Linked DNA regions of Homo sapiens: region 2 is linked to region 1. The links are contacts of gene promoters, found by promoter capture Hi-C in human tissues and cell types (Jung and others, 2019). All regions are on one chromosome and are shown on one strand. The core of a region is centred on a gene start or on the middle of the fragment in contact, and the rest is flanking DNA. Distances in the headings are between cores, read along the strand shown.

Evidence for each region. Contacts are between HindIII fragments. The study calls those that stand out against the background at their distance.
Region 2: a fragment that was not itself captured here is called in contact with the fragment with the promoter of TAAR6 in region 1 in 1 of the 25 tissues and cell types used here (hippocampus).

What each region holds. Positions count from the first base shown.
Region 1 is chr6:132,568,826-132,571,731 of GRCh38, reverse strand. TAAR6 (trace amine associated receptor 6) reads right to left here and starts at 1,410. Exons shown (of 1, transcript NM_175067.1): 1 at 373-1,410. The coding sequence starts at 1,410. The coding sequence ends at 373. The HindIII fragment of the contact is 8,933 bases long and covers 1-2,906 here.
Region 2 is chr6:132,618,068-132,620,973 of GRCh38, reverse strand. It overlaps TAAR2 (trace amine associated receptor 2), which reads left to right. Exons shown (of 2, transcript NM_001033080.1): 2 at 2,829-2,906. Among named protein-coding and RNA genes, the nearest start is that of TAAR2, 4.8 kb to the left of the region's middle. The HindIII fragment of the contact is 4,774 bases long and covers 1-2,906 here.

The DNA.
Region 1 (2,906 bases), core at 161-2,660:
GGGAAAGAGTAGAAAGCTTTGTAAAGAAAAGAGGAAAGGGAATAAATAAAAAAAAAAAAACAAATATTTTTAGGAAAAATACCAGAGCAGAGGGAAGAGTCAATGGATTAAAAGACAAAAAGTGTCTGCAGGGAGTGGGATATGCTGAGCTCTAAAGCAGTTAACAAATAGGAATTTAACATTTGTTAGCCAAGTAAATACTTTTGCAGAAGGGACAGGAAAGTGCACATCTTAACAAGACTGAAAAACATTGATTTGTTTTTCATTTGAAGAGCAATTTATTTGCTATTCATTCATAGTCTTACTTGATTTTTAAAAACTCATTTCGCTTGGTAATTTTAAAGGTATCCTGAACTTCGTCTATACAACTGCTTATATATGTTCAGAAAACAAATTCATGGTTGCTGAACTGTTCTTTAAAACCTGACCAGTTACAATAACTTTTATTGCTTTCCTAAACCATGGGTAAAATAAAGCATAAATCAAAGGATTCATGGCTGAGTTATAATAAGCACACCAACAGCAAATCTCATAAATACAGGCAGGGGTTATAAAGCCCATAAAGGCATCAATTAATGAATCAATGCTATATGGTAACCATGAAATCATAAATGCTACCACTGTGACCCCCAGGGTTTTAGCTGCTTTTCTCTCTCTCCTGGCCACTCTGGCTTTGTAACTCTCTGAGGATGATTCTGTCTTGCTACCAGTATTTTCTATCTTTTTCGCCTGTCGTCTAGCCACAAGAAATATGTTACCATACAGAATTATCATAATAAAGGTAGGTATAAAGAAGGATAGAAAATCTGTCAACACCCAGTTTTGATTTACAACGGTCTGACAACCTCCTATACAGTTTAGGGCATCAGATAATTCCTCCAGCCCATCGTCATAGACACCTGTGTAGAACACAGCACCGCTGTACATGAGGGGCAGGATCCAGGACACGCTGATGCAAATTCCTGACACAGATACGGTGAACTTGGTAGGATAGACCAGGGGGTCAGTAACCGCAATGTACCTGTCGATGGAGATGAAGCACAAGTGAAAGAGAGAAGAGTAACAAAATGCCACATCACAGCAGGTGTGGAAAGTACAAAAACTCCTCCCAAAATACCAGCAGCTCTCCACCGTCCTGACCATGCTGAAGGGCATCACAGTCACACCCACCAAGAAATCAGCGCAGGCCAGAGAGGCAACGAGAAAATTGGTCGGAGAGTGCAGCTGCTTGAAATGGAGGATTGAAATCATCACCAGGAGGTTTCCAAACACAGCCAGCACAGCCCCAAAGCCAAACACTATGTACAGAATCACCCGGGATCCCGGCGAGAAGGGGATTTTCACACAGGACCCATTCACGTTCGCGTAGCACAGCTGCACAGCCACCAGCAGGGATGAATTGCTGCTCATAACGCTGTTATTTACATATGGAGAAGTTTTGTCCTTGTTGATTATCACAAAAAATACAGGATTGTTCCTGATTTTCAGTGCTCCTGCGGAAAAAAACACATATTCACCAGGATGCCAGAGGAAATGATCAGATATTATCTCTAATATAATTTTTCAAGTTTCCATTTTTATTATAAATCCCAAATGTTTATGACAAAATAAAATTTGACAAAAATTATATTGCACAAGATTATTGGAGATTGTTTCAACTGATAAATGTCTCATGCTCTTAATTTGATAAAATTCCTTTTGATTTTAAATATCCTTTCATATTTTATTTTTACCTTTTGAGTTTCTCTGTGCAACAGTCGCTGATATGGAATGTAATTATGGAGCTGAAAGATCACCTCCTGTTATCTTTATCTCTGTTATCTGTCCTGCATTACCGCCTTAAAGATGAAGTCCTTTTAGCTAAATAAATGCCTTCAATGGGAAAATCCCTCGATGGAATCCCTGTAGTGCGCGGTGTGAACTAGTATGATTATTTTCAACAGTGATTACTAGGAAAGTTATTCTACAAAACAGGTCTCTACTCTATATTAAATTCTATTATCATTATTGTTTTAGGCCAAAGATTTGTTTTTCCTTAGTGCATAGACTTGAACCATTCCCTTGTTCCCAATCATAACTTAGCCACCCGGGTTTTTGTTACAAAGATACAATAGGGTGTAAATAGTAAGCATCAATACTTGGCTCTTTCTCTTCTGTTAAGAATCAATTTTCCATCTGCATTGGTTACCAACAAGCAGAAATTATTATAATACATAGTGAGGGGAACTTGAGATTGATAAAATATATTGCATGAAAGCATTAAAGAACGACATGCTGTTTAGACACACCGGCATTTCTGAGATGCTGGTGGAAAGACCAGTCCTCTTCTCAAGACATTGTTACTGGGAACACATCTGCAATGTGTCTGCATCCACATGACAAATGGGCAGTGAGCCCTCTCTCTCTGACTACGCATTTGTTTGCAATTCCTGGTGACTGGCCTTTGTGCTCCCGATGCTAAAAGCAGTCAAAAAAATAAGAATAATGAACAGGAAACTGGAAAATGGGAAGAGAATCCTCAGTAATGTTCCCAACCCTGGAATGTAAAGACACTGCAGAGTGAAGAAAATATTGTTATTATTATATTATTGTCTTCCTGAAGAAGGGTTCAACTCTCTTTCCAGTACAGGGCTGTGACTTTAGAGACATTTGTGAACTTGCTTTTCAAGTTATAAAGAGTGATAAGTATTATTATTAATCAATCTCGCTATCTGATTCCTACTCAATAAAATTAACACTCTTAACCAAGTAGTTTTCAGATGCTTCTTAATATTTTCTGTATGTCTGATTTTGTGAAATGGTGTCAATTTCTTATATAGACAAAACCCCGTGCGGGGCTTTCTCAACTTGAGCACAATGGACTTTTGAATTCAGATAACTCTTTGATATGATAAATTATTCTGTTA
Region 2 (2,906 bases), core at 407-2,906, 49 kb before region 1:
CAAGAAATGACAAGTAGCTAAAAACCTTAGTACCAAGAGGGAGGAAAATCTCTCGCTTCTCTTCTTTTTTCTTTCTGTCTTTTTTTTTGTGTGTGACAATGTTAGGAATAGCAAAATGCTATATGCACATATTAGAAACCCCTACTTTTTAATGTGTGTTTTTTAACTTTTATTTTTATGTTTTTTTAACTTTTATTTTAGGTTCAGGGGGTACATGTGAAGGTTTGTTACATACGCAAACTCGTGTCATGGGGTTTGTTGTACAGATTATTTCATCACCCCTGTATTGAGCCCAGTACCCAATAGTTATCTTTTCTGCTCTTCTCCCTCCTCCCGTCCTCCTCCCCGCTCTGGCCCCAAGTAGACCCCAGTGTCTGTCGTTTCCTTCTTTGTGTTCATAAGTTCTCATCGTTTAGCTTCCACTTATAAGTGAGAGCATGCAGTATTTGGTTAGAAACCCCCATTTCAGCTGTTAAAAATGAATATAGTTTAAGAACTGGTTGTACACATTTTAGACAGATCTGGATAAAACTGTTCTGATGAAACTCTTTCATGAATAAGTCAGCTGTTTCTGTAAACAGCATTTAGGGCGTCGGCAGAGACCTCAAATGCAGTTTGGTAGTGTTTCTATTTTGTGGTATGCAATCACCCAGGTGGCAGATATAAAGATGTTTAGTTCTATTGCTCAAATACGTCCCATCATACACCAGGCCATTAGTTCTCTGCAAGTGGGGACGAGGCCCCTGAGGAGGAAGAATAACGAGGAGAAAACTGCCTTGGAGTCGCCACTTGGCATCAGTTGGAGGAAGCTTTTAATTTCAAATCTGTACTCACTCTCTTGTAACTAACTTAATTACTTTAATTTAAAAAAATCATTACCCAAATTTAAGAACAAAATGGGAAATCTCTTTTGACTAATGCTGGCTAAGAACACTGGCTTGAGGAACAACAATGAAACTAGAAGCACTTTCTTCTCTCCCTCTATACTCCCCTCCACCTTGTATTCTCTCTGCGGTGTTTTAGGGGTCCCTGAGAATTCCTTTTAGAAGGTCTCGGAACACATACAGCCTTGTGTCTTTTCTTCATCATACCTTCTGTGTAGAACAGGCTTTTTCTCTTCTGTTCAAATCCTACTCACCCATTGAGACCCAGATCAAAAGTCATATCCTTGCTGGAACATTCCTGTGCAGTCCAGCCTGAAAAGATCTTGTCCATTTTTGATCTTGGATTGTACATTTTGCCTGGATCTCTTTTTGGTCAGGTGATCGCCGCTGTTGCTTTCATCTGAGGTGCAGAATCATGTAGGTTTTAAGTGTTGATGTGCTTTGTCTCTTCAGCTGCATTGTAGAATCTCTGCTGCAGGGTTGACCTTCATGCTTTCTTCTTCCTTTCCTTGTATCTTTCATATTGTGGACATTCAAGAAAAATGTCTTACTCTCTTTGTGATACACTCTTATATCACAGAGGCTGGTAATTTATTTGTTTATCTCTTGGTAACTGGTAAGGTCTGATATGTGTGAGGTCACTGAAGGCCAAAGGCATTTCTTCAATATTAAGAGTTATGCTTTGCATATAGGCAGCTCTTTTTTACCTAATGTACTTTTTAAAAAGAAAATCATTCTAACTCATGAACGTGTTACATTTCAAATATATATGGAAAGAATAACATGCAGATTTTAATATGTAAAATGAGCATTCTGGCCCAACACAAGGAGGGCATGGGCTTAATTTTCTTGTAGTAGAGATGGCTTGCTTTCTAAAAGTTCTCTAGCCCTCTGCTCATAGCCTTGTGTGTGGCCTACGCATGGCAACTTGTCAAGCTGTCATTGCATAGGGCTCTGAGTTACACTTGCTCTTCACAAGTAACTGAGGGTGGTCCAGCTTTGGTCTGTGCCCACCTCTGACTTAGCTGCTTTGGCTGATGCCATGCTTGTTAAGAATTCATGATTTGCCTTATAGATTGACTCTACCAGATAATTAGAGGTCATTAGATGATTCTTCCCCCTTAAAACAACATTCGTATGAATAAAACAAAACACAGCACAGTGAAAATAATAGAACACAAGAATGAAATTGTTTTCAAATAATAACCTCCTGATCCCACAGGTAATAGATCACAATCAAATCAAATCTGATTATATATTTCTGACTCCTTGGAGGAAGAAGTACATGTATTGTCTAATAGATATCTATTCTTCCTACACACGTAAGATACAGCTCAATAATTTGTTTTTTCTTCTTTTAAATTTCAAAGCCTGGCATAAAGTAAGAGCTTCCTAAATGTTGGTAGTATAGAGGAAAGTATGGAGTAAATAATGATTTTTTTTTTTTCTCGAGATGGAGTCTCTCTCTGTCTCCCAAGTTGGAGTTCAGTGGCACAATCTCGGCTCACTGCAACCTCCACCTCCTGGGTTCCAGCGATTCTGCTGCCTCAGCCTCCCGAGTAGCTGGGATTACAGGCACATGCCACCATGCCTGGCTACTTTTTGTATTTTTAGTAGAGATGGGGTTTCACCATGTTGGCCAGGCTAGTCTCAAACTCCTGACCTTCAGTGCTCCCCCTGCCTCGACCTCCTAAAGTGCTGGGATTACAGGCGTGAGCCACCGCACCTGGCCAATAATGATCTTTTAAGCCAATTAGGTTACAATTCTACAAAATTACAAATAAAGATTAAAATAAGTAAATGGGAAAGATCATGAGTAATATTACAGCATAAATTATCTTCCTTGATTCTTCTCTGCCTTTCTTGAGTTTTTCTATGAAAGCATATATAAAACATAGAATATTTATATTCTGACAAAATTCTATCTGTTCTTGTTTTTTGAAGGAAAAATTCAATTGCTCTGAATATGGAAATAGATCTTGCCCAGAAAATGAAAGATCTCTGGGTGTCCGAGTGGCTATG